Linked DNA regions of Homo sapiens: all the other regions are linked to region 4. Evidence: promoter capture Hi-C in 16 types of primary human blood cells and fetal thymus (Javierre and others, 2016). All regions are on one chromosome and are shown on one strand. Each heading gives the region's core, a stretch centred on a gene start or on the middle of the fragment in contact. The rest is flanking DNA. Distances are from core to core; before and after follow the strand shown.

Evidence for each region. The method cuts DNA at HindIII sites, captures the fragments that hold promoters and counts their contacts. A CHiCAGO score of 5 or more calls a contact.
Region 1: a contact is called between the fragment with the promoter of ZNF529 here and the fragment with the promoter of ZNF383 in region 4, in 1 of 17 cell types (fetal thymus). The highest score is 5.1, in fetal thymus.
Region 2: a contact is called between the fragment with the promoter of ZFP14 here and the fragment with the promoter of ZNF383 in region 4, in 1 of 17 cell types (total B cells). The highest score is 6.3, in total B cells.
Region 3: a fragment that was not itself captured here is called in contact with the fragment with the promoter of ZNF383 in region 4 in 1 of 17 cell types (total B cells); the score reaches 5.8 in total B cells.

What each region holds. Positions count from the first base shown.
Region 1 is chr19:36,571,646-36,574,705 of GRCh38, forward strand. ZNF529 (zinc finger protein 529) reads right to left here and starts at 1,647. Exons shown (of 5, transcript NM_020951.5): 1 at 1,495-1,647; 2 at 688-747. The coding sequence starts at 701. ZNF529-AS1 (ZNF529 antisense RNA 1) reads left to right here and starts at 1,704. Exons shown (of 5, transcript NR_173348.1): 1 at 1,704-1,910. RefSeq lists an enhancer at 1,704-1,793. The HindIII fragment of the contact is 11,229 bases long and covers 1-3,060 here.
Region 2 is chr19:36,377,829-36,380,851 of GRCh38, forward strand. ZFP14 (ZFP14 zinc finger protein) reads right to left here and starts at 1,373. Exons shown (of 5, transcript NM_020917.3): 1 at 1,335-1,373. RefSeq lists a silencer at 1,480-1,569. The HindIII fragment of the contact is 12,200 bases long and covers 1-3,023 here.
Region 3 is chr19:36,418,435-36,421,414 of GRCh38, forward strand. ZFP82 (ZFP82 zinc finger protein) reads right to left here and starts at 210. Exons shown (of 5, transcript NM_133466.4): 1 at 58-210. It also overlaps the pseudogene ACOT4P1. The HindIII fragment of the contact is 563 bases long and covers 1,400-1,962 here.
Region 4 is chr19:37,216,683-37,219,463 of GRCh38, forward strand. It overlaps ZNF383 (zinc finger protein 383), which reads left to right and starts at 1,532. Exons shown (of 6, transcript NM_001387601.1): 1 at 1,532-1,592. RefSeq lists an enhancer at 1,158-1,647. The HindIII fragment of the contact is 5,435 bases long and covers 843-2,781 here.

The DNA of each region.
Region 1 (3,060 bases), core at 397-2,896, 640 kb before region 4:
GCCTGGGCAATAACAGTGAAACTCTGTCTCAAAAAAAAAAAAAAAAGTGTCTAATGGAAATTTTTAAATTACCTAAGTGGCTTTATATTATATTTGCATTAGACTGTGCTGCTTTAGACTCAGACACCACTGTATCAGGCTGCCTCTCACAATCTACACCAATGTCACACTGCCAAATCTCAAAGAAGATTTGGTTGTCACCACTTAAATCCCCTCATGAATGTTCTGGAAAAACTCCCTGCCCTTGTTGACATAGCCTCTCTGCATAAAACTCCTATCATATTCCCACTCCTAAATGTCTCCAAAGCCAACTTTGTCACTTACTGATTAATACCTACCATCTCCTATCTTGCTTTGTTTGCAAATCAAGTCTGTAAATAAGATCAAAGGTATCTAGTGTGCCATTCTACTTAATCACTCGTCTCCTCCTTAACAAATTACATTCTAAAAAAAAGTTTTAACTTCTCCTCCAGGAGTTGTATTTCTATACCATAAAAATCCTTTGGAAAAAAAGAAGCACATGGGAGAATTGAATGATTTACCTAATGCATATGTGAATATTCAATGAAAGGGAAATGGGCATTTGGAAAGGCAATGGAGGACAAGGGGACCCATCTCTACGGTCCTGTTGTTAATTGGGAAGAGAAAACCAAGGGACCAGGTAAATGAACAAAAAAAAAAACTAACCTTGAGTTGGCCATTAGTACCAATGCTGTCTTCCACTTCAGGGGGCCTTCACTTGCAGAACTACATAACCAAGAGGGAGAAAGGACTCATGACATCCTGGACTGGTTAAATAAGAACACAGTGTTCACCACCAGAAAAGCCCATCACACACAACAAACACACCCAGATCGAAGAGGGAAACTAGAATACTGTCGACTCCTCCCCACATCCGAGAAAAAGGTACGACCAATGCCTAGCAGTTTCTAGGGAACACAGCTCAGGAAATACTGTAGTTCTTTAATGTATAAATGGCCTCCAAACTCATGCAAGGGGAGTTATCCCAGGAATGAATACTACACCTATGCCCTCCCCTTCACGTCTTCCCAGGAAACTTCATTTATCTATCTTATCTATCTATCTATCTATCTATCTATTATCTATCATTTATCTATCTTCTATATATCATCTATGTAATCTATCTATATGCGTGTGTGTGTGTGTATAAGACCTCACGAAGAGATTCCATCACAGACATCACAGAGTCGGAAAAATGACGCTTTACCCAAAACAAACTCCTACAGGCTCACGGAAAAAAACGAACAAACAAACAAACAAAAAAAAACAAAAAAACACTTCTACCCCGTTCACACTTATAGTTGGTCACAACAGTGCTGTCACACGATCACGTCACCGTAGACCAGGGTCACACGATAGACCCCGCCCCTACTCACCGTCCTGAGTCCGATCAAACAGCACCCACGGCACACACTAGGGTCTCCGTCTCTCACACACACACACCACAATGACGTCGTAAACAATAGCACTAACCACCATCGTCCGCAGCTCCCGCGTACAGAGGCCTCAGGCTCCCGGCTCCACGTGGACCGACCTCGCCCGGCAGCGCGGGGCCACCTCACCGCGAGCTCCTCCCGCAGCCCGGCCCGGGTCACCTCGACTCGCCAGGCTTAACTCAATAACCACAACACCGGAAAAGGAAGCAAAGGTCGAAGTTCATCCGCGGCCCTGAGGCCTGTGGGAAACGTAGTCCAACAACGAAAGAGCCCTGAAGCTCAAGCGGAGCCCGCTGGCCGCAGGGGCCGCACCACGCCCCAGACCCTGGAGTTTCCGGGTGCGCAGACCCTTGCCATCAGCAGAGGCTGCCGCTGCGCGTCCCCTAGGCGCGGAAGAGGCGGCTGGTGGTCCCTGACGGCAAGGTGAAGTCGAGGCAGTAATCGGGAACCCAGGTTGGGAGGACAGAATGGGGAACAGGAAGCTGGGGCGAGGGTGGTCTTGGGGGAGGTGGGGGGCCGCGGAATTCTAGGTGGCCCCTGCCTCACCTCTGGAAAGAACCGGAAGCCCGGGCCGGGGAGGGTGAAGGGAGTCGCGGACCCGGCTGCTCAGCCGAGGAGGAAACCCGGACCCCAGGCTGAGGGAGGCCGAAGAAGGAACTGGAGGGCCGGGCTGGGAAGGCCTGAAGCGGGTACAGCCTTTAGGCTGGGGAGGGTCGAGGGGAGAACTCGGAGCCTGAGTCGGGCGAGGTTTTGCTCCACTCTGGCTTCTAAGTGTGGGGGCCTCAGGATGTGACCCGTGGTCGTAAACCTGAGGGTGACTTGGAGTTTTTGTCCGTTTTGCACCATGAGAAAGGCCCCAGATGGAATCTGGCAGGTAGCGGCGGTTCAGTGTGTGTGTGTCTGCCTTAGGGCGTGTTTTACACTGTTGACGAAAAGACTCAGACTCTAAAGTATTTGAAGAGACTTATTCTGAGCTAAATATGAGTGACCAATGGCCGGTGGCCCAGCCCTCAGGAGATCTTGAGAACCTGTGCCCAGGGTGGACGGGATATATGTGGTTTTATACCTTTTAGGGAAACATGAGACACCAATCAAATACATGTAAAATGTACATTGATTCCCTCCGGAAAGGCGGGACAGCTGGAAGGTGGCTGGCCTTCCAGGTCATAGGTAGATTCAAAGATTATTTGATTGGCAATGGGTTGAAAGAGTTATTGACGTAAGACTTAGGAATGTCTCCAGGTAGCACGCTTCACAGAGAATAGATTGTAAATGTTTCTTTTCAGACTTGGGGTCTTTTCTATCAGTAATTCCAAAATGGAGGAGGGTATAATGAAGCATGTCCGACCCGCCCACCCCCGCCTTTCCATCATGGCTTTACTAGTTTTTCAGGTTAGGAATGCCCTGGCCAAGAGGAGGGGTCCATTCAAGATGGTCTGGGTGTGCTTAGGATTTTATTTTTGGTTTACAACACCAGCACCACCGGAGTTTGCTGGTGTCCTTTCCAGTCAGTTTCAAAGCAGAGACAGCCATAGTTCTGATTTGTGTCACTGTAACTGTCAGTTCCGGAATTCCATATTTCTCCTTTAGTTTACCCTAATGT
Region 2 (3,023 bases), core at 123-2,622, 840 kb before region 4:
GACCCAGACTCCATCTCAAAAAATACAAAAAAAAACAAAACAAAACAAACCTACTGGAAAGGGGTAGGAATTGGAATCTACCTTCATCACCCCATCATTCACTGGGAAGGAAGGCCAAAGCACCAGGTCAGTGGACAGGACATTTCAGGGGTTAAAGTCTAACTAGCTGAAGATTAACTGGAACAAGCCCGCATAGTCTGACAAAATCATATCTATTGACTGGCAGAAAGGGAGAAAATTCCACAGGAAGGGTTGGAATAGAATGGACGAGAGAGACGAGAAAAGCTCTTTCGTAAACGGTTGAGTTCCAGCTGAAAGATTCTAAGGAGGATCTAATGACAGCTGCAATCTGGAATGGCTGCTGTTTCCGAGGTGAGATTAGGAGAGGCAGGGATTAATGAGATATTGAATGCAATCATGAGTGTAATCAAGAGGGTATCCCCAGTAATAAAATGAAAACAGCAAAGCAAGTCTAGAACATCACTGGTAAGAAAACTGTAATCTCTCAAAGAGGGAGTCATTATGCCATTTTACAACTACTGCACCACCTGGGGAGAAATCATGTTTTCTATTAATTTTGCAACTGGCTTTATCTGTCTCTTCCTTCCTAGCCTGATTAATGACAGAGCTGCTTCATTGTTCAGTCCGAGCTGATTTTCATTCCACAGAAGAGGAAAGCAAATGCCCCCACGCCCAGAAAAAATAAAAATTACACTTCATGGAACAAAACGGAAACACAAACTCATCTGGATGTTGACTTGTCTATATGCAACAGCAATCATTTCCTCCTCTCCCCGCTGCCTTCCTAAAGAACAGCAGGATTGGGAAAGGAGACGGGAATCTTGAGACCGCGGGCCTTTCCTGGAGCCGGCCTTGGCTGAGCAGGACACACCCCCGCTAGCGCACTTGCTCCCTCCGTCTACTGCGCGCAAAACCCGATGGAAATAACAGGGAGCCTGGAATAAAGCTGACCCTTTCCCGTATCAGAGCGAAAGGCCAGGTACACGAAGACGGGGCTGGGATCTGTCTCCGAGTTCCCCGCAGTTTCCATGGGAGGGAGCTCGGGTAAAGCTGTGCAATCTGCAGTTCTTCAGACTGCGTCTTTTTGTTTGGGGGCCTTCATTCACTCCGGGGTTCCTGTATCTAACTCGGAGCCATTCCGGGCCGCTGGACCTGGGCGGCTCTGAAGCGAGAAGGCAGAGGACGCAACAGGGCACCCGGCGCCCAGTCAGCGCCACAAACTCCACAGCTACTGCCTCCTGGCTCACACTGAGGTCTGCGCCGCCCCCGCGCCACCCCCGCGCCCATTGCCTCGGTGCAAGCGACCAACTCACCTCTCGGAGCCGACACCAGCAGCGAAGCCGGAAAGAACTGCGAGCGGAGGCCTGTGGGAAATGTAGTCCGCCGATGGGAGGGACTGGTTCCAGCCCCAACGGGCTGCGCGGAGTGCGCATGCGCGGGGGCCGGAGCCCCGGGTGCGCTCGGGGCGGGAAGGCCCTCCGCGCTGCGTGGGGCTGAGGCGAGCTCGGGCTTGCGTTTGCTTTTGTCGCTGAGGAAGACTTTTATTTGTTTATTTTCTTGAGACAGGGTCTTACTCTGTCGCCCAGGCTGGAGTGCAGTGGCGTGATTAGAGCTCACTGCAGCCGCGACCTCCCGGGCTCAAGCGACCCTCCCACCCGAGCCTCCAGAGTAGCTGGGACTGCAGGCGCGCGCCACCACGCCCAACTCATTTTTTAAGTTTTTATAGAGACCAGATCTCCCTATGTTACCCAAGCCGGTGTCGAACTCCTGGGCTTAAAAGATCCTCCCGCCTGAGCCTCCCAAAGTGCTGGGACTACAGGCGTGAGCCACCAGGCTCAGCCGCGGAGGATTTAGAAAGAAGTTTTGGCACCAGCAGATGCCTAATATGTGTACTAAACACCTACCAGTTACTCACTGCATACACCCAAGCAAGGTGTGGGCACACATCAGGCATGCAATGAAAATACTCTCAAAGCCCACCAGAACCTGGAGCAGGACGTAAACCTAGAAAGGTCGCTCGTGCTCACTGCCCTCTCCCTTTCTCCCACTCTGTCTCTGTCTCTGTGTGTGTGTGTGTGTGTGTGTGTGTGTGTGTGTGTGTGTGTGTCTCGTATCTCCTGCAGTTGTGAATGTATTGTTCTACTAAAAATACAAAAAATTAGCCGGGCGTGGTCGCGCGCGCCTGTAATCCCAGCTACTCAGGAGGCTGAGGCAGGAAAATCGCTTGAACCCGGGAAGCGGAGGTTGCATTGAGCTGAGATCCGCCATTGCACCCCAGCTTGGGCAACAAGAGCGAAACTCCGTTTCAAAAGAAAAAGACTAACTGGAGAGGTCTGTCTCCAATGAGACTGAATTTGTCCTGTCCTGCGTTCCTTCAGGAAAGAAATGGGATAAGCCCACCAGGGACCACCCTGAGGCATCTTCTGTATCCCAAATTCTTTGATATATTAGTTAATACATGAAAGAATTTGTTCTTTCCTTAAGAATATAAAACTTTAGAAGATATTTGAAAATGCCTCGGCAATCTGGTTTCATTTTGCAAACAATAGGATATGCATGAAATAGGAGATAAATGAAAAATCTGAGCTACTTTATAACTACTAAGAAGGTGGCCAGACGCGGTGGCTGACGCCTATAATCCCATCACTTTCGGGGGGCCGAGGCGGGTGGATCACCTGAGGTCAGGGGTTTGAGACCAGCCTGGCCAACATGGTGAAACCCCGTCTCTACTAAAAATACAAAAAAATTTAGCTGGGCATGGTGACGCACACCTGTAGTCCCAGCTACTCGGGAGGCTGAGGCAGAAGAATCGCTTGAACCAGGGAGACGGAGGTTGCAGTGAGCCAAGATCGTGCAGCTGCACTCCAGCCTGGGCGACAGAGCAAGACGCCGTATCAAAACAAAAACGAAAACAAAACAAAACAAAAAAAACTACTAAGAAGGCCGAAGGCCCAAAGTATTTTTTTAATTCAAAATCACGGTCCTATGTACATGTTTACAAT
Region 3 (2,980 bases), core at 431-2,930, 800 kb before region 4:
CCCGGGCCTGAGGCGCGGGCTCCCGCCCCTCTGCGATACTGCAGTGGCCCCGCTTACCTCTCTTTACCCCCTGGGCCGCAGCGCTTTTCCTACAGATTACCAGGACCGACGCTCCGGGCCAGGACTGCTCACTCGGGGCGCGAACCCGAGGCACAGCGATGCCCGAACGGAGGAAGCCGCTGCCGGGTCACGCCACAATCCCCGGGGCCTAACGGGCTGCGCGCGGAGGCTGCTGGGAGGGCCGGGCGCGCTCACGGAGTGCGCAGGCGCGGCCAGTCTCAAGGGTCCGCTCGCTGGTGCAGCCCCTGCTCTGCGTGAACCCGGAGCCGGAGCTAGGTCCGTCCCAGCGAGGCTGCGCTTCGAGTCCCTTAGCGCCTGGGGACGGCGCGGCAGGGCCTGGAGGGGAGCGGGGACAGATGGCTGGCGCGTTAAAGAGGGGCGCCCGCGACCGCCTCTCTATAGTGCCAACTAGGGAGCCCTGTGAGCGAGGACGGCGCTGCGAGTCTGTCCCTGGCGCGCTCCTGGGTGGGATTCTTTCACTGGGTGTGGCTGTTGGGATTTGAGACCGTGTGACTCCGGAGATTCGGGGAAGCCAGTTCCTATATTTTCCATTTCTGTATTTTTAAATGGTAAAAACAATGAAAAGGAGAACAATATTTTGTGAAATATGAAAATCATACATGTCAAATTTCAGTGTCCATAAATAAAAGTTTTATTGGAACATAGCCGTGTTTGATTGTGTACTGTCTATTGCTATATTTGAGCTACAAGGACAGACTCGAGTAGTTACACAGACCAGATGGCCCACGCAGCCTAAAATACAGTCAGTTCTCACTATTCACAGTAGTTATGGTCTATAAACTTGCTACAAACACGGAATTAGTGAATACCATTCCACTGCTTCTAGGGGAAATACAGGGTTAGTTTCCTGTAAGCATCTGGTCACATTTTAGTCAACCGATGAATGCATAAGCTTATTTTATTGTGTTTATTTTCTTTTTTTCTTTTTTTTTTTTTTTTTTGAGATAGGGTCTTGCTCTGTCACCCAGGCTGGAGTGCAGTGGTGGGATCTTGGCTCACTGCAACCTCCTCCGCCTCCCGGGTTCCAGCAATTCTCCTGCCTCAGCCCCCAGAGTAGCTGGGAATACAGATGCATGTCACCATGCCCAGCTGATTTTTGTATTTTGTAGAAACGGAGTTTCACCATGTTGACCAGGCTGGTCTCAAACTCCTGACCTCAGGTGATCCACCCGCCTTGGCCTCCCAAAAGTGCTGGGATTATAGGCATGAGCCACCGCGCCTGGCCTTATTGTGTTTCTATTTAAACACTTTAATATATATTATTGATTCATTAACATTGAACTCATGGCCAACAGCTCCATAACTCATGCCTGAATGAAGCTTATCTAACACATGTATTTTTTCTGTAAGACACATGACCGCTTTCTCATTCATAGGAACATCAACAGCACTTTAGTACTACTACATTTGGGGTCCCTTTGAAACAGCAAAATCACCAGCAAAAAACAAAAATATGAGAAGCCAAGGTACTAAATGGACTGCAAAAAGGGTACCTGTTTACAGTATGAGAGCTGAAATAAGAAGATAGAGGGTCACTTTGTTTGACTTTGGCTGAGAACATGCCTGTTAAGGGACTCAAAAAGGTTCACCGCTCTTCGGATGTCCACAAATGACCACAAAGGTGCTGCAAATATTGACTCTGGGTTTATAAAAAAGTTTTAGCAAGTAGATGAATTCACAAATTCAGAATCTGTGAATGAAGATTGACTGTATTTACTATCAGGCCCTTTAAAGAAAAAGTTTGCCAATCCCTGTTTTTATATGTCCCTCTTAGTTATACAGCTAGTGTTTAAAAACTACTTGAAATAATTATTTTCCCTGTGCCACCAATTATGTCTATAATTGATTGTACCCCATTAAATAAGCACAAAGAAAAAAGAAAGCTTTCTTTATAGAAGAAGGCCAGCTAATAACTATCAAGGGTTTGATTTTACGTGGCTTAGACACGCTGCTTCAAATGCATTTAAGATGTTTGGTTTTAACAAGGATTTTGCAACAGTATAGTGTTTTCCTTAAGTTCAATGTCATTTCTATGTCATGGCAGCTGTCACCTGCAGTTAGGTAAGACAGTGACATCATTAACATGGATGCATTTTCATGGCATGAAGGCTAGCCATTGATGGGGTAATATAACACAATTTATCAGTAAACGCTGAGTTTTCTTTGAAGTCAGTCTCTGATTTCTTACAGTGCTTGATGTCTGCCTTGCCTGCTAGTGACCAATTCCCCTGCGTCTTTACAGAGCCTTGTTACTCACTCAGTGTAAAGACAGTGGGGGAAACAAGGTTTCCCAAAGTATCCTTATGTGCAAAAGTGTTTCTTACTACTTTGGAAATACTAAGCTGAGTTTAATGTTTATTCTTTTTCTACCAACAGACACAAAAAGGACAAGCACATGCCTTAGAATATTCAATACAATTTTCTACAGCGATATGGTTAAATACTCTTCTGTCTTCACTACTTTTTTGTTTTTACTTTACTTGGAAATTTTAATTCTCTAGGAATAACGGGGCAGGAGTCTAAAATAATACTTTGTGGGAGTGAAGTATATATTTTTTTCCAAGTAAAAAAAAAAAATCAGGCCAGGCGTGATGGCTTAGGCCAGGCGTGATGACTCATGCCTGTAGTCCCACATACTCGGAAGGCCAAGGCAGGAGGATAGCTTGAGCCTGTGAGATCGAGATTACAGTGAGCTATGGATCGGCCACTGCACTCCGGGCTGGGCGACAGAGCGAGACCCTGTCTCAAAATTAAAAAAAGGAAAAAAAAAAAAAAAAAAGTCTGCGCTCCCCGGGGCCCAAGGAGAGGACCCAGGAGAGGAGTCTGGCTCCTTTTGCCTCAGACGAGTCCAGGGCGCCGGGTTAACTGGTCTAAAGTCCCAGGCGCTTTCTGGGACTGC
Region 4 (2,781 bases), core at 282-2,781:
TGATACTACTGCTCATTCCTTAGAATAGTCAATAGATGCCTGATGTGGGGTTTGGGAGGTGGGGATTGACTTAACAATGTGGGGGGCAGAGGGCGGTGAATAAAAATATTCTATATCCGCCGGGCGCGGTGGCTCACGCTTGTAATCTCAGCACTTTGGGAGGCCGAGGCGAGCGGATCACGAAGTCAGAAGTTCGAGGTCGGGAGTTCGAGACCAGCCTGTGAGCTCGAACCCTGTCTCTACTAAAAATACAAAAATTAGCCAGGCATGGTGGCGGGCACCTGTAATACCAGCTACTCGGAAGGCTGAGGCAGGAGAATCGCTTGAACCCGGGAGGCGGAACTTGCAGTGAGCCGAGATCTCGCCACTGCAGTCCAGCCTGGGTGACAGCTAGACTCCAACTCAAAAAAAAAAAAAAAAAAATTCTATATCCAGTAACACTAAGGATAAATGCTTGAGGGGATAGACACCCTATTTTACATGATATGATTCTTACGCATTGCATGCCTGTATCAAAACATCTCATGTACCCCATATACAACTACTATGTACCCACAAAAATTTAACTAAAATGCTTAAAAATTTTTTAATTTTAAAAAATATTCTATATCCTGATTACGATGGTGGTGACAAGGGTTTAGACATGCGTTGAAGCTTACCGAACAGTTCACTTAAAATGAGTGCATTTTATTGTATCTAAATTATTCTTCAGTAAAGTTGATTTTTAAAAAACATGCACACAAATATAATTTACAAACTATAACATTAGCTCGTTTATGGTGTACCATTCAGTCACTTTTAGTGTATTCAGAGTTGTGCAAACATCATTATCTAATTCAAGAAGCTTTGCATTACCCCAAAAATGAACCCTTTAGCTATTACCAATCACTCACAGTTCCCCCTAATCCTGCTAGTCCTAAAAAACTCTAACTTACTCCTTTTCCGTAGATTTGACTATTTTAAATATTTCCTATAAATGCAGTCATACAGTATGTGGCTTATCCACGGATGAAGGCAAAAATGACGATTTAGTCAGTCTAGCATTCTCAGAGAGCGTTATAACGCCTAGTACAGTCCGGGGTCCTGGGTGCGTTCTGCACTGAGTCGGCTTGGGGCAGGAAGTCATTTAAGCGACCTCCTTCCACTTGCCCCAGCGCCTCACCCCTTCCTGCTCTAGACTACAGTTCCCAAAAATCCTTGCGGCTCTAGTCAACATCTGGCCCGAAGCTGGCGACCTTTTCCTGTTTCTCAGGGAACTCCCTGGGGTTGGCCGGTACCATGGAGGAAGATTGTCTTCAGCGTGCAGGGCCAGCGTCCTACGGCAGTTTCACTCTGAGCCTGTGTCTGGATCACGGAGACGCGGGGTAGCGGTTCGGAGTGCGGAGCAGGGATGTCCCCGAGCTGTGCAGCTGCAAGAACCCGAAAAAACAGGCGCCATCTTCTCGGCGCGGTCCTACTCCGGACTGTATTTCCCAGAGGCCCCCGCGAGTCCAGGGCAGCCCCTTCATTTGCCTGCTGGACCCTCCGCCTCAAGGGTAGGGGAAGTGCGCGGTGAGCGGCCTGGGTCTTGCAGGCTCGGCTGGGGCCCGCAGGTACGTGCATGGGAGTTTGAAGGGACTGACCAGGCTGGTCTGGAGTGTTGGGCATGTATGAGTGTGTCGGGCATGTATGAGTTGGTCGGGCTGATAGAGGGGGTGGTGGGGAGGCGGGCGCGAGGCGTGGGCTTCCGTGTGTGAGTGTGACCTTATGTGACTGTGCCTCTCTGTGTGCGCGGGTGTGATTGTATATCCTCGTTGTAGTTGTGTAATTGTAACAATGTAAGGCTGTATGTGTAGGTATGACTGTGTCCCGTGTTGGGACTGTGATTGTGTGTGGCTGTGTAACTTTGCGTGACATTTGTGGAGGGTGTTTGTGTGGAGAGAATCTGATGAGGCTGTGACTGTGTGTTAGTCTGAGGGGTGTGTGTAATTGTGTTTGTATGACTGTTAGCAGCACTTAAGTGTACTGGATGCCTTACTGAGTAAATCTACTACCCAGAAATAACCCAGTAACGTGAGAATGTGAGAGTGTGACCATGTAACTTTATGTAGCACTGTGTCTGCGGTTGGAAAGTGCGTGTAATCGTGCCGGGGTGATATGTGTGTCCTAGTGGTCATTGTGTTATTTTGAATGTGTGATTGTGTGTAGTGCTCAATAGGGGTCCTGGGGAGGGGGGAACTGTAACTTTGTGTGGCTCAGTAGTGCGTGTGGTATTGTGACTATCTGTAGCACTCTGGTTCTGAATGGTGCTATGTTTGAGGGGTCTGTAAATATGCTAGTGTAACTTATCCTCAAGGTAGATGTGGGACAATGATTGTGTGACCATATATAGTGTTATTGTTTGGGTGAGGCGTGCCTGTGGAGGTCTATGTGGGTCCCCATGGTGGCTGGGTGACTGCAGCATTGGGTAGGGGGTGCTTGTGACTGTCTTTGTGACTCCAGCTCTCCCTGTGAGGTCAGGACAGATTCTCGAGAGGAGAGACCTCACCCCTCTGATACCAAGAATGCTCATGACAGCCTACACTTCTCTGTTTTTGTTTTGTTTTGTTTTAAGGCGGAGTTTCGCTGTTGTTGCCCAGGCTGGAGTGCAATGGCGCAATCTCGGCTCACCGCAACCTCCGCCTCCCCGGTTCAAGCAATTCTCCTGCCTCAGCCTTCCTAGTAGCTGGGATTACAGGCGTGTGTCACCACGCCCTGCTAATTTTGTATTTTCAGTAGAGACGGGGTTTCTCCGTGTTGGTC